Linked DNA regions of Homo sapiens: regions 1, 2 and 4 are each linked to region 3. The links are contacts of gene promoters, found by promoter capture Hi-C in blood cells and fetal thymus (Javierre and others, 2016). All regions are on one chromosome and are shown on one strand. The core of a region is centred on a gene start or on the middle of the fragment in contact, and the rest is flanking DNA. Distances in the headings are between cores, read along the strand shown.

The links. The method cuts DNA at HindIII sites, captures the fragments that hold promoters and counts their contacts. A CHiCAGO score of 5 or more calls a contact.
Region 1: a contact is called between a fragment that was not itself captured here and the fragment with the promoter of SSTR1 in region 3, in 7 of 17 cell types (neutrophils, naive CD4 T cells, naive CD8 T cells and 4 more). The highest score is 16.4, in neutrophils.
Region 2: a fragment that was not itself captured here is called in contact with the fragment with the promoter of SSTR1 in region 3 in 4 of 17 cell types (neutrophils, naive CD8 T cells, total CD8 T cells and 1 more); the score reaches 7.6 in neutrophils.
Region 4: a contact is called between a fragment that was not itself captured here and the fragment with the promoter of SSTR1 in region 3, in 5 of 17 cell types (naive CD8 T cells, neutrophils, total CD4 T cells and 2 more). The highest score is 8.9, in naive CD8 T cells.

Annotation. Positions count from the first base shown.
Region 1 is chr14:37,984,121-37,988,158 of GRCh38, reverse strand. No RefSeq gene overlaps it. Among named protein-coding and RNA genes, the nearest start is that of LINC00517, 84 kb to the right of the region's middle. The HindIII fragment of the contact is 5,574 bases long and covers 1-4,038 here.
Region 2 is chr14:38,003,920-38,007,802 of GRCh38, reverse strand. All of the region lies in intron 3 of LOC105370456 (a long non-coding RNA gene), which reads left to right. Among named protein-coding and RNA genes, the nearest start is that of LINC00517, 100 kb to the right of the region's middle. RefSeq lists an enhancer at 2,841-3,377. The HindIII fragment of the contact is 1,477 bases long and covers 1,329-2,805 here.
Region 3 is chr14:38,206,057-38,209,898 of GRCh38, reverse strand. SSTR1 (somatostatin receptor 1) reads right to left here and starts at 1,995. Exons shown (of 3, transcript NM_001049.3): 1 at 1,795-1,995; 2 at 1,290-1,456; 3 at 1-853. The coding sequence starts at 509. It overlaps LOC124903303 (a long non-coding RNA gene), which reads left to right and starts at 612. Exons shown (of 2, transcript XR_007064117.1): 1 at 612-817; 2 at 1,623-2,684. RefSeq lists enhancers at 1-548, 1,532-2,193. The HindIII fragment of the contact is 9,392 bases long and covers 1-2,339 here.
Region 4 is chr14:37,961,719-37,965,728 of GRCh38, reverse strand. No RefSeq gene overlaps it. Among named protein-coding and RNA genes, the nearest start is that of LINC00517, 62 kb to the right of the region's middle. The HindIII fragment of the contact is 2,787 bases long and covers 1-2,724 here.

The DNA.
Region 1 (4,038 bases), core at 1,322-3,821, 220 kb after region 3:
CATTTATCATGATTCTTCCACACCCATGGACTTCTTAGATTAACCTACCAATTCTGATTATAGTAAGTAGGTTTCATACACCATCTAATTATCATGAGCCATTGAGTCAGCCAAGAAGCCAAAGTGGGGAGCTGTTTGATTCATATGTCTTCATCTGTATGGGTGTATGAAGGCATGATGTATAGAAATTATAAAGGGTTATAGAGTCAGATGGTCTGGGTTTGAAATTGGCTGTACCACACACTGCATGTTAGACTTCTGGCAAATTACTTAACCTCTCTGTAAATATTCAGTTTCATCACCTGTAAAACCTCTACCTACCTCGTAAGGTAATTGTGAGGTTTATATAATGCAACAGATTTTAAGTATTTAGAACAGCACCTGACACAAAATTGAGTGTTCAATAAATGTTGGCTGTTGCTATTATTTATCGTTATTAATTTTTAAAAATGGCTTATAAGCATCAATTTCACTCAGATGTTCTCAAGAGGATTTAAGTCATTATTTGCCAAATTTTACCATGAAGTCTTCTATTTGGGAGACTCCTACATATATACACCTTTCTGTATTTCAATTGCCATGACTTTCCAGTAGCCTCAAGGATGACTTTGCCTGAAGAAAAATATCAGTTAAAGAAAAGCATTTGGCATTAATCTCTGGCTTCAGGCTGAAACCCTAAGGCTCCATAAATCCTCTTATTTCAACCACTTGGAACACTAACAGTTAACAGACTTGAAGTCTTGCTGTTTTTTGACATTTCTTTCAAAACAAAAAACAACTTTAATGATTTTGCTGAAATTGTAGGTGATTCTATCTCTTTAATTATTTGAGGCTTGAATATGAGGACTAATCTGGAGAATGGGAAGTACAGTCATCCCTAATATCCATGGGGGATTGGTTCCACGACCTCCCTCAGATACCAAAATCTGTAGACGTTCAAGTCCCTGATATAAAATGGCATAGTATTTCAATATAACCTACGTACATTCTCTCATATACTTTAAATCATCTCTAGATTATTTATAATACCTAGTACAATGTAAATGTTATGTAAATAGTTATACTGTATTGTTTAGGAAATAATAACAAGAAAAAAATCCATACATGTTCAGTATGATGCATATTTTTCTCAAATATTTTCAGCCCGTGGTTAGGTAAACACACAAATGCAGAACACATGGATATGAAGGGCTGACTGTATTTATTTATTTATTTATTTATTTATTTATTTATTTATTTATTTTGAGATGGAGTCGCTCTGTCGCCCAAGCTGGAGTGCAGTAGCGCGATCTCAGCTCACTGCAACCTCCACCTCCCGGGTTCAAGTGATTCTCCTGCCTCAGAGGCCTCCCAAGTAGCTGGGACTACAGGTGCCTGCCACCATGCCTGGCTAATATTTTATATTTTTAGTAGAGACAGGGTTTCACCGTATTAGCCAGGATGGAGGGCTGACTGTATTTCTAATTGCTTCTTTCGATCAGCATAGAAGCAATTACTTTTATAGCACTTACATGCCAGGCAGTGTCCTTCGTGCATTAATTTTTTATATATTCTTCAGAGCTGTCGATTTAGAGGTACTAATATTAGGCTACTAAGGCTTCATTCACTTGTTAGAACATTTTCCCCTCAGCAAGTATGTCAAGCAAAGTACTTCAAAGAATATAGAGTCAATAAAATTCCACAAAGCAAATCTGTGTAGTAGGATGATGAGAGAAAGAGTACATGAAGCAGTCAGCCTGGTGATCATTTGTAGCTAGTTAAGAGACCACAGCTGAAAAACAGACCTTTCTTTTATCACCAAATTGCATGATGTCTAAGTGGTCACTGTAACTCAGATCCAATCTGACATAATGACATTAGGCTGAACTCACACATGCTCTATCAGTTCAGAGGAACTGTTTCTCATCTATTCTTCCCTCTGCCCTCTGGGGAAAAGGCATACAGGAAATATTGTGTTGGCAACTAAAAAAAATGCTCTGTTTTTCTAAAGATTGAAGGTATTAATTTAGCCAATGCATGGTTAGCATCTAGCTGGTCATGTGTATTATTGAGAATGTGAGTGACTTCAAAAGCGAAAAAAGGATAAACTGTCACAAGTTCAGTGCCCCCTGGTGGAGCATGATGGGAAGCACCTTTTCCTTCTGTCCCTAAAAAGTGCCTAAGACCATGCAAGGTGTATTTTAAATGTTCATTTCTCCACTGGCTTCATCTTGCCTTTCCTATTTTCTACTTTCCTTTGGCAAAATTTTTTAAACTTTTTTTTTGAGACAGGGTCTCACTCTGTCTCCCAGGCTTGAATGCAGAGGCGTGATCACAGTTGACTGAATCCTCAACCTCCTGGGCTCAAGTGAGCCTCCCACTTCAGCCTCCCAAGTAGATGGGACTACAGGCATGCACCACCACACCTGGCTAATTTTTTTTAATTTTTATTTTTGTAGAGATGAGGTCTCACTCCGTTGCCCAGTCTAGTCTCAAACTCCTGGGCTCAAAAGATTCTCCTGCTTCGGCCTCCCAAAGTGCTGGGATTACAGGCATGAGCCACCATGCCCGGCCTACCTTTTCATGTTTACAGTTATTTTATCTTTTTGAATTTTTGTAAACAAACTTAATTCTTTCTGGACTAGCAAAATATTACTAATAAACAAGGCTAATAGCCTGTGGGGTGCCAGCTCTGCCACCTAGATTGTGTATGGCTAGCATCCATTCTCTTGGTTCTGAATTAGTCAGTGCCTGGGTCATACCAGTAGTTAAATGTTATTCATATTTTCCCTTAATATGAATATACATATGTATGTATGCTTGCACATCAAGCCAACCTGTGCTTTTAAAATTCTTTGTTCCTTAAAATTCTCAAAGACTAAAGAATGCAAAAGAAATCATCCCAAAATTGAAAATATATATCCTAGATATATTCAAACAAATATATCATACATAGTACCCACTTTTAATGGCCTGTAACTAACAGCTGTGATTTTAGGTCCTCAACAAAGGAATGAAGACTATTAAGGGCAGTGTCACTTCCAAAACCTCTACAGTCACACAAAGTCAGAGTTGCTCGAAAGACGAAGACTGCATCTCTGAGAATGACTGTGCCTCATGACAACCTCAGGCCCAGGCACACTCAGAATTTGTAGATGGAATTTTCCCACATCTTTAAAAAGAATTCAAGGCCAGGAGCAGTGTCTCACACCTGTAATCCCAGCACTTTGGGAGGCCGAGGCAGGTGGATCACCTGAGGTCAGGAGTTCAAGCCCAGCCTGGCCAACATGGTGAAACCCCATCTCTGTTAAAAATACAAAAATTACCCAGGCGTGGTGGCATGTGCCTGTAATGCCAACTACTCAGGAGGCTGAGCCAGGAGAATTGCTTGAACCTGGGAGGCAGAGATTGCAGTGAGCTGAGATCTCACCACGGCAATCTAGCCTGGGCAACAGAGCGAGACTCTGTCTCAATAACTAACTAACTAAATAAATAAATAAATAAATTCAGCTTTATTGAAGTACAACTGACAAATAGAAATTGTGTATATTCAAGGTGGACAACATGATGTTTTGATATACATATAACTTATGAAATGATTTCGACAATCAAACTAATTAACATACCATCACCTCACATGGTTACCTTTATTTTTTGTGGTGAGAATACTTAAGATCTACTCTCTAGATCTACTCTCTTAGTATGTTTCAGGTATGCAATACAATATTATTAAATATGGTCACTCTACTGTATATTTATTGATCTTAGTTGATCTATATTTATTGGTCTATAATTTATTGATCTTGCAACTAGAAGTTTATACCATTTGACCCATATCTCCCTATTTCCCCACCCCTCAACCCTGAGTAACCACCATTCTACTCTGTTTCCATGAGTTGGCTTTTTTTAGATTCCAAATATCAGTGAGATTATGCAGTATTTGTCTTTCTGTGCCTGGCTTCTTCCACTTAGTATAACATCCTTCAGGTTTATCCATGTTGTCACAAATAGCAGAATTTCTTTATTTTTTTAGGCTGAACATCATTCCAGGGTTTATGA
Region 2 (3,883 bases), core at 818-3,317, 200 kb after region 3:
AGTGGGAGTGAGATCAAAAAAGAAAGCATAGGAAAGTGTACAGTTTGCTTATGACAGTCTCTACCCTCCTCTGCCCCTCCTGCTTTGTTCTACCTCAACCCTCAGCTTCTTCTACAGGGCTCCAGTGTCCCATTATTGGTTCTTAGATGGCTGTCAATCAATCCTGCCCTGAGCAGAGGCATGGGCAGGAGTCAAAATCCTACAGCTAGGATTGGTGCACTTCAATAGACATATATAAACTGTATATTTAAAAGAGCTGTTAGAACTGTAACAGTGATAATTGAGGTAGGGTAACAGCGATAAATGAGTAGGGGTTCAGATGAAACAAGAATCATAGAATATTGACAATTGCTGAATCTGAATGATGGACAGATGAAGGCTAATTATACAATTTGCTTATTTGGTTTATGCTTAAAATTTTCTATTTAAAAAGGTTTAAAAAATAAGTATGCTAACCAGAATACTGTTTGTATACTTTAGATCCTTTTTATCTTTTTGTTGCTGACTGCAGTCATATTTAATGTAAATAAATAAAATTTTTTCCCATAGCTACACAGCTCACCTATTGTGGCCAATGCCAATTCTGGGTGTAAAAGAAAATCCTTGAGGAAGCAGCAGGGTAAATCAACACATATCTAATTATATTTTTCCCTTATTTAAAATCCTTTGGTGTCTTTAAAGAAGTTCAAACTCTTTGAAATGGCATTCATTACTTCTTATAATTTCCCACCTCACCTCACTTATCTTCAGATTTCTCACTCAATATTTGTTCATGTCCTTTAGGATGGGCTTTTTGAACTGCCTTCACCTCAAAGGATTTGCCATGAATGCTTACACCTTCTTTTTTTTTTAATTCTTCTTCTTCTTCTTTTTTATTGAGACAGAGTCTCACTCTTTTCGCCCAGGCTGGAGTCCAATGGCACAATCTTGGCTCACTGCAACCTCCCCCTACCGGGTTTAAGTGATTCTCCTGCCTCAGCCTCCAGAGCAGTTGGGATTAGGGGCACCTGCCACCATACTCGCTAATTTATTTATTTATTTATTTATTTATTTATTTATTTATTTATTTATTTATTTTTTTAGTAGAGACAGGGTTTCACCATGTGGGCCAGGTTGGTCTCCAACTCCTGACCTCAGGTGATCTGCCTGCCTTGGCCTCCCAAAGTGCTGGGATTACAGGTGTGAGCCACCACACTCAGCCACTTATACCTTCTTGACCTTAACATACACTAGTCTCTGCCTGGAAAGACATCCCCATACCCCCAGGTCTTCTGGCTAATTCTCATTTATTCTGAGATGCTACAGAATGTGTATTGTCTTGCCAAGCTTCGCATCTCACATCCATTGCACTTGTCTGTTACTCATCTGCCTTCTTCACTTGACTGTGAGCATCTTGAAGAATGGGACTGTGCTGTTACCTTTTTATTCTCAGCACCAGCCCAATCACTGCAACTTAATAAATGTTAAGATTTTTATTAATCAATGAATAAATGTAGAAAAAATGCTAAAGCCATAAACATATCAAACAGAAAAATGAAGGCATATCATATCTAACAAGATTAGGAAGCATGAGAAAAACTTTTTTCAATGACTTACTTGAATATATTTTAAAAATCTTATAGACCCTAATAAGATCCTGCTTTAGCGAACACAGCAGTAATTGAAACAGACGACGCTCCTGACGTTCATACAGATTACATTCTTTTCGAGGTACACAGACAATTAACAAATATAGAATATAGTGTCAAGTAGTGATAAGCATTATGAAAAAAATAAAGCAAGATCAGGGTTGGCGGGGGATTATGACTACATAAAAAAGCAATTTAAAACTTCTCTAGGGAGGTGACATTTGAGCAGAGACCTGAATGAAGAAATGCATAGAGCCAGTTGACGATCAGGAGGAAAAGCAAAGCAGAAGGAGCCAAAAGTGAAAAGGCCCAGAATCAGGAATTTGGGGTACAAGGAATTCTGGTGCCAAAACTGAACATTCTATCTCCAGAAATATGTATTTTAGGGGGGGGCAGTCTTAAAGGCTTTTCTTTTTCACATTTTTCTATTAAAAGTCAACCACCATTAGCAGCAGTGACAGTTTAAGTAAGAATTAACAAGCTGCAGAGAATGAAACAAGGGTAAGAAGGCGAAGTGGATTGCTGAGCAGGTCCCCAAAAGGGAAGGCCAAAGCGCACTAAGCCTTGCCCATGTCACTGCTGTCCCTACACTGGTTCTGGGTAGAGACAGTGATGTGTTGAGATGACCTATGTAAAGGTGAGATGGGAAGAAGGTGGTATTACTGCCTGCTTCCTCTCCTCCCAATTGCACACACCCTTTCTCTTCCCACTTCATCCAATTAGAAAGCATCCTTTAAACAACATGAGGGACAGTAAAAACAAGGATTGGTAACCTCTGGGATGGTATTAGTCGCTGGAAAGAAAATTGAAAAATCAATTCTGTTTGACTTGGAGCAAATCATCTTGCTATGGCAAGATAGGAAAAATATGGTCTTTAGGAGTCCAAGTGGCTGTTGAGTTCATAGCAGTGACTTTGCCACTGATACCACTTAGCAGTGGCAGTAAGTAACAGGATGTTCAATAATACAGGCTCAGGAGGCTAGGATCACTGATCCTGTGAAGTAAGAAAATGTACAGCTCTTTCAGACACTTGGAAAAATCAACAGAGCCACAAGAGCCAGATAAAGAAGATGACAGCTCTGCCCAACAGCAGAGACATAGGAACATTAGCCAGGAAAATGCATCACAGAAGAAAAGTGGCTTCCTGTGAATGCAGGTGCAATGATCAAATTAAGCTTCCTACTTTATGTGTTAAGAGAAACATAGCTCAGCATCTAGAGTCCCACCACATACAAAGCATCTGAGAATGCCCAAAGTGTGTTCTAACTTATTTCATTTCATCCTTACAAGCAGTTACTCAGGTTGTCACTCATACTTTGCAGATAAGGAAACTGAGGCTCAAAGTCATATTAACAAGTGGTGCAGCAAAAGCAGACACCTTGGTCCTCTGGTTTCCAGTCTCAGGTGGCCCTCACCCAGGATGTGATTCCAGCAGGTGGAGAACTCTCCACCTTCTCAGTTCCTCTCTCTTCTAAACAGCTCACCCTCAGCCTTGTTTCTTTCATCCTCTTCTGCTTTATAAGTACCCTAGCAGCAGGGGGTTTGATGAGCTTGGGCAGTAGGATTAGACCGTCTGGGTTTAAATCCTAGTGCTACAAATTACTAACCGTGTGACATTAACCAAATTGTTTAACCCTGCTGTCTTTCTGCTTCCTCTTCTGTAAAATGAGAATTATAATAGTACCTCATAGTGCTTAAAGCAGTGCCTGTCCCATAGGAGAGCCCAGTAAAGTTTGCTATTGAAATTATATTCCTTTCCCCATCACACTTCACAAACCCTTGTTGACTGTCCCCTCTGCTTGCCAGTTCCTCCTTTTCCTGCTTACTTTTTCTGCCCCAACCTTTTCCTCCAACACCCCACCCCACCCCACTCACACACACGCACACCTTGCCCTCAGAAACAACTTGCTCTCTTTTTTCTCCCTTTCCATGACTTCTGTGTTCTGCCTGCCAGCTATACCTGCTTGCACAGCCTCCACTATCAGTCTCTAGGATGGGCCCAGCATTCCTGCACCTGCCCCTGCTGCCCTTGAAGCTGTGTGGACTGGTTGAGGCCCTGAAACTTCTTGGGGACAGATAGTTCAAAAACACATTCTGTGAAACTGCTCCAGAATGGAGAGCAGAAGGGCTTTGCTGAAAGATTGCAGAAATCAGAGAACACGGAGATTTATAGCAGGTGCTGCTTTCTTAGAGGCCGAGGACCCGGGAATGCCTCAGGAATAACAATGAGCTCTCTCCTAAGCTCCTATCCTTAC
Region 3 (3,842 bases), core at 746-3,245:
CGGCGGTAGCGGGCCGCCTTGATGGGATGCACCACGGCCACGTAGCGGTCCACGCTGAGCACAGTCAGACAGTAGATGCTGGTGAACATGTTGACCGCGTCCACGCTGAGCACGAGGCGGCAGAGCAGCGCACCGAAGGGCCAGTGGCGCAACAACGTGGAGGTGACTAGGAAGGGCACGCTGAGCATGAGCAGCTCATCAGCAATGGCCAGATTTAGGATGTAGATGTTGGTGGCCGTCTTCATCTTGGCATAGCGCAGGATCACGTAGATGACCATAGAGTTCCCACACAGCCCCACCAGGCACACCACGGAGTAGATGAAAGAGATCAGGATGGCGCTGCCCTGGCCCTCGCTCAAGGTCCCGTTCTGGGACGCATTTCGCCCTGGCTCCTCCATGCCGTCCGCAGCGCCGGCCCCGGGGCCCCTGCTGCCGCCGCCTTCGCCGCAGCTGCCCGGGCTGGGGCTAGGAGAGGAGGAAGGAGAGGAGGCGGTGCCATTGGGGAACATCCCAGCTGAGGGGGGCCAGTGGGGCTGCCAGGGCTGGGGCTTTCTCCTCGCGCACCCGCCGCCTGCGCCCTCCCTCCCCACCCGACCGCTTGCCTGCAGCCCACAGCCGCCCAGCGCCTCCGGGTAGAGCGCAACCGCTGCGGGGAGCGCGGCTCCTACCGGCGCCGGCGGGGCGCACAGCCCAGCGGTTGCCTGGGCTCTGCAGTTTGCAGCTCCGGGGTGCCCGGGCACAGGCGACCGTGGAGAGGAGAGGCCAGGATGTGGGAGCACCGCACGGCACAGCCATTAACTGGCGCGGCTCTGGACTGGTAAATGATTAATAGGCACCACCAGCGCGTCAGCAGCTACGAAAAAAGGGGGTGGGGTGGAGAAAGGGAGGAGAGCACATAGGTGGCTTGTCCCCCCCGCCCCCCATTTTTTTCCTTCCCAGTCCTGCACTCTGCTCAACTTTAGTGGCTCCTTCCGGGGTTCCCTCGCAGCACCATCTGCCTCTTGCTCTCAGAGGAACCAAGAGAGTTCCTCGGCCTTACTGGAGGGCGGGTGGGAACCAAAGGTATAGATTCTGTCTCATTCCACTCCTCTCCTACCCAAAGCAAAGACTCAAACGGATCCATGAACATGGATGTCTGGAGTTCATCTCAGTTTCCCTCCATTGCTGCCCTTTTCTCTGGAGACCCCAGCTTCTCTCCCGTCCCGCAGTCCAGAACCCTAAATTCCCTCTTCCCACCCTCGCTTGCCTTGCAGCTCAGACCCGCCAGGGAAGTTCCGGGCCCTCCTTACCCAAAGTGCGCAACCTCCAGACTGAGACGTAGATGGTCGGTGCAAAGTGCATGTGCGGTCTGTTAGCAGGTTGACGATCTTCGCGCAGACCAACTCCCTTCTTTGCGCCTGGCCCCAGCACAGGTGCCCACGCAATTACTCTTAGAATCGCGGAAACTGGCCCTAAGCTGCGAGCGTTATGAGAAGAAAGGACAACCACCGTGCGTTAGGGGCTTCTGCGCTATAACACAGCAGGCAGCTTAGGCTATTGGGAGTGTTCAGGGACCTGAGTGAACCATTCGCAAATCTCTTAATAAAGCTCGTAGCGCTCAGAGCCCCCCGTGTCTCCCACAGGAATATCGACTGCAGAAACGAGGACGCGCAGCTGGGAGCTCTGGAGGAGCTTGAGACTCCCTCCAGAAACGTGCCAGGCGCGGTGTTGGGAATCCACCTAGGTGTTCACTCGGGAAAGATAAGGCTGCGCCGCTTGGAAGGGCTCCACCCGCGTCCCTGCTGTACTTTGTACCCTGGAGAGTTGGCGGGTTCTGGCAGACGAGAGTTTAAAGGCTTGGGCGGGCGGGGACGCCAGCTCTTCTAAATCCAGGTGAGGAGCTGCCGCCGTGCGATGACCAGACCTGTCACCAACCCCAGGAACGGCAGGGCGACATTCGAGTTTTTCCGGGAAGAGCTAGGATGTCAGCTCTTTCTGAGGCTTGATTTGTGAGCTGGCTCTGGGTCACGTGCCCAAACCATTAGGAGATATCAATGTAGGCAAGCCTGAAGCTCACTGACTTCATTTAAGAATCAAAACGGTTTTCCCGTAAGAAAGAATGTATGTTCCGTTATCAGGATTTTAAACGAACCCTGGGACTTACCACCATTCTTACTCTAGGGTCTCTTTGGCTTTCCAACTGTTCCTGTGGAAGGAAGAATCACACTCCATGCAACTTCCCTGTTCCTTTTCATAAACGTTGCTTTGCTCGGTAAGATCCCTGCAAGCCTTTATTTGAAACTAGCCTGTTCACAGGAAGAGTGACCCGCAGCAGCTTAGTGCTCTGCCTCCTTCAAGCTTTGCTGTCTCCAGTTTTTCCTTAGTTTCTCCTTCTCCTCAACCAGGCTGTGCCCGCTGTACTGTAAGTCTCAGTTTTCCTCCTCTCAGTAGAGTTTACTCCAAGGAGAGGCTAAACTCCTCATGGAGGCTATCTGTACCGGTCCAGAATGAAGAAATGGATGCAGAAATTAAAAACAAAAAAGTATATTTCCTAATGCCCTGTTGCTTTATCCAGGTAATCACTTACATATACTGCATGTGTTTTAGTTCCCAAAACTAATTGTCTTGAACAGGAAAGAATAACTTCTGTAGTGTGTTGATGATAGCAATCAAAGACTAAAATAAATGACAGACTTTCATAGGAATGTGTGCAATTATTAATGAGGAATGTGCTAGGATGGAATTTGAAATTTCATACGGCTGAAACTGTTTTAACCCATTATTTTACCTGAACAAATTGCCTTCTTTAAAGTGGAATGTACAATTGGTGTTTAGTTATATTTATTTTTCCTTTACAAATACAGCACATATGGAGAGAAAATAAATGTTCATTAAGTTAAAAGAAAAGAGAGTGGGTATTGTCCCAGAATCCCAGAAGAGCATTTTACTAGCCAAGCCTCATATAATGCCTTAGATGCCTCTGCCAATCACTGACTAAAGACACCTGACTATCTGTACCTCTGGGAGCTTGGATTTCAACAGTCATTATTTAGATGCCTTGGCTTTGATCATGGTTGCTCTTTGGGAAGTGTGTGATGGGAGTCAGTGAAAAACAGCTCTGTTGTTCAGAATTTCATTAAATTCACTTTCAGCTCATCTTAGGGAAAATTTCTCTCAATTTTGTGGCCTCATATACAAAAGAAGAAAACTTAAGACCTGACGTGAGAATGCTTTTTATTTTTATTTTTTTGAGATGCCACTTTTCACCCACTAGGATGGCTATAAGAACATTTTTAAAAACAAAAAATAAACGTTAGTGAGAATGTGGAGAAATTAGAACACTCATACATTGCTGGTGGGAATAAAAAATGATGCAGCAACTTCAGAAAAAAATTTTGGCAATTGCTTAAAAAGTTTAAAAGTTTAAAAGAATGACCATATGAGCCAGCAATTCCACTTCTATTTACTCCTCAAAATTGAAAACAGGTGTTTAATCAAAAACTTGTGCATGAACATTCATAGCAGCACTATTCATAATAGCCAAAAATTAGAAACAATCCAAATATCCATCAATTGCTGAATTAATAAATTGTGGTATATCCATACAATGGAATAGTATTCAACCATAAAAAGAAATGAAGTACTAATACCTGCTTCAGCGTAGACGAAGCTTGAAAACACTATGCAAAGGGAAAGAAGCCAGACACAAAAGGCCACGTGTGGCATGATTCCATTTATATGACATGCCCAGGGCAGGCAATACATACAGACAAGGTACGTTAGTGGTTGCCAGGGGCTGGGGGCAGAGGGGAAAGAGGAAGGACTGCTTAATGGGTATGAGCTTTCTTTTTTGAGTGGTGAAA
Region 4 (4,010 bases), core at 82-2,581, 240 kb after region 3:
CAGCATTCTTATAAAACAACAATAGTTAAGCTAAGAGCCAAATCAAGAACAAACTCCCATTTACAATTGCCAAAAATAGAATTACATACCCAGAAATTCAGCTAACTATGGAGGTGAAAGATCTCTACAAGGAGAACTACAAACCACTGATCAAAGAAATCAGAGATTTTGATCAACAAACAAATGAAAAAACATTCCATGCTCATGGATAGGAAGAATCACTACCATTAAAATCACCATACTGCCCAAAGCAGTATGGCTTTTTATAGATTGAAGGCTATTCCTATTAAACTCACATTTACATTCTTCACAGAACTAGAAAAAAACTATTTTAAAATTCATATAGAATGAAAAGAGCCCAAATAGCCAAGGAAATCCTAAGGAAAAAAAAAAAAAAGGCTGGAGGCATCATGCTACCTAACTTCAAACTATACTACAGGGCTACAGTAACAAAAACAGCATGGTACTGGTAAAAAACAGACACATAGACCAATGGAACCAAATAGAAAACCCAGAAGTAAGACTACACACCTACAACTATCTGATCCTTGACAAACCTGACAAAAACAAGCAATGGGGAAAAGATTTCCTATTCATAAATGGTACTGGATAACTGGCTAGCCATGTGCAGATGATTAAAACTGGACTCTTTCCTTACATCACATACAGAAGTTAACTCAAGATGTATTAAAGACTTAAATGTAAAGCCAAAAACTATAAAAACCCTGGAAGACAACCTAGGCAATACCATTCAGGACATATGTACAGGCAAAAGTTTCATGACTAAGATGCCAAAAGCAATTGCATCAAAAGCAAAAATTGACAAATGGGATCTAATTAAACTAAAGAGCTTCTGCACAGCAAAAGAAACTATCAACAGAGTAAACAGACAACCTACAGAATGGGAGAAAATTTTTGCAAACTATGCATCCAACAAAAGTTTAATATCCAGCATCTATAAGGAACTTCAACAAATTTACAAGAAAAAACAACTCCATCAAAAAGTGGGCAAAAGACATGAATAGACACTTTTCAAAAGGAGACATACAGGAGGCCAACAACCATATGAAAAAAAGCTCAATATCACTAACCATTAGAGAAATGTAAATCAAAACCACAAGAGATACCATCTCACACCAGTCAGAATGGCTATTATTAAAAAGTCAAAAAATAACAGATGCTGGAGAGGTTGTGGAGAAAAAGAAATGCATATACACTGTTGGTAATGCAAATTAGTTCAACCACTGTGGAAGACAGTTCAGTGATTCCTCAAAGACCAAATGGCAGAAATACCATTTGACCCAGCAATCCCATTACTGGGTATATATCCAAAGGAATATAAATTGTTCTGTTTTAAAGACATATATACATGTATGTTCATTACAACACTATTCACAATAGCAAAGACATGGAATCAATCTAAATGCTCATCAATGACAGACTGGATAAAGAAAATAAGGTACATATATACTATGGAATACTATGTAGCCATAAAAAAGATTGAGATCATATCCTTTGCAGCGACATGTATGGAGCTGGAAGCCATTACCCTTAGGAAACTAACACAGGAACAGAAACCAAATACCACACATTCTCACTTATAAATGAGAGCTAAATGATGAGCACACATGGACACATAGAGGGGAAAAACACACACTGGGGCTTATCAGAAGGTGGATGGTAGGAGGATGGAGAGGTTCAGAAAAATTAACTAATGGCTACTAGGCTTAATACTTGAGTGAGGAAATAATCTGTACAACAACAAACCCACAAGTTTACCTATACAACAAACCTGCACATGTGCCCCTGAGCTTAGAGTTGAAAACATATGTTTTGAAAAGATAATTTAATTACATGGCCTAATTTTATGTGCTGGGTATGGTAGCTCCCAGATGTAATCCTAGAGCTTTAGGAGGTTAGGTGGAAGGATCACTTGAGCTAAGGAGTTCAAGATTACTCCAGCCTGGGTGAGAGAGCGAGACCTTGTCTAAAAGAAAAAAAAAAAGCAAGAAAGAAAATAAAAGATGAGAAAAGAAAATTAAAAAAAAAAGACAGATGGAAACAGTATGCCCCAAATGACCTAGATATTGTGGGAAAATCAAAGAAAAAGACACATTCACATGAAGATACATGGATAATAGAATGAATAAAAATGTACCAAAGTCTTAATAGTAGTTATCTTTGGGTAGTGATTTTATAGGTGGTGCTCATTTTCTTTTACATATTTTTCTGAGTATCCTACATTTCCTAAAATGAGATTATGTTATTTTCTACTTTAAAACATGATCTAACCATCACAACTTAACAAAGTATAGATTTTAGAGAAAAGTACACAAAATACAATTTGGCTAAGCATAAAAAATGATTAAATTGAGACACATGATGTTTTCCTAAAATAATTTAGAGTGTTTATTTTGTCGGCTTATTCAAAATTGAAACCTCAAAAAGAAATGTAGGATTCTTGATTCCTCGGTACTTTGATGAACTTGAAGATGTGGTTTGAAATCACTATCTTCTTAAAAATGGATAGATATCGACCATCTGTTGCCTGTTTAGAAACAAATGTACCATTACCAGGAGAATTTTCTAAGAAAATAGGTGGAGTTTCATGCTTTCTTTTAAGATCCCGGAAGCCCTGCTCTTGGTTTGATTTAATTTAGGACAAAATAGGGTCTTCCATTTTGCTTCAATATGAGTTATATGGACCACTTGTTTCCGAAAGCTTTGGAGGGTGGGGAGGAGAGGTAAGGAGAGAGGAAAGGAAGGAGAGAATAAAATAAAGAAGGAAAGAAGAGTGCTTTTTGTTTGGGATGGGACAGTTATGTCAAATACAATTGCACACCCACACCAGCTTTGATAACTTGGTAATGACTGTTTTTGCTGAGAAGAATTCTGAGGTTGCATCTGATGTAGCTGGAAAGTATGGTATTATCAATGAATGATGTCTGTGTAAGTGTGCAAGGGAAGGTACTTGTCATATCTGAAGTCTGGGATAGGACCGGCAATAGGACAGACAATGTATCATCAGTCTAGTAGTTTTGCTGTCAATATATTATGTGACTTCCATGTAGAAACTTCATTCAAGTTTCTGTCAGCCTATTATTGATTAAAAGCATAATGTTTTGCTTTTAAATCAAGTATGTTCATCTATTGTGATTTGAAAAAAATACTACTGCTACTACCCTCAGGTTTTTAAGAAGAAATAGTGTATTTAGTAAGTTATTACTGTTCAGAATGAAATCTAGAAATATTAGTGACATGGTTTGGTTCTATGTCCCCAAATCTCATGTCGAATTGTAATTCCCAGTGTTGGGGGAGGTACCTGGTTAGAGGTGATTAGATCATGGGGGCAGATTTCCCCCTTGCTGTCTCATGATAGTGAGTGAGTTCTCATGAGATCTGGTTGTTTAAGCTGTGTAGCGCTTCCTGCTTTGTTCTCTCTCTCTCCTGCTGCCATGTGATTATGTGCCTGCTTCCCCTTTTCCCTTCCACCATTGCTATAAGTTTCCTGAGGCCCCCCAGGCCATGCCTTCAGTACAACCTGTGGAACTGTGAGTCAATTGAACCTCTTTTCTTTACAAATTACCCAGCCTCAGGTAGTTCTTCATAGCAGTGTGAAAATGGACTAATACAATTAGCATACAAATTTAAGTCATGACAGGGTCCCCAATATTTTACAGTGTGGACCATAGGGTAGCTGATCAGAATCAGAAGGGGGCTTCTTGACACTGCAGTTTTCCTGGGTCCCACCCTCTATATTCTCAATAAAAATCACTGGGGACTAGGATCTAGAAATCTACATTTTTAACCGGTACACCAACTGATTCTTATGCACCCAAATTTGAGACCCACTGACCTAAACTTCTGAGAGAAATTTGCCATTCACTCCACAGTGCTTTCTCAACTGCCCTACCACCTCCACCATTACTCTTGCTAAAAACAAAACAGTGCCCAGATTATTCTCTATTCCAAACCTAATTTTCTAGATCAACCTCTGAGAAACAAGTATA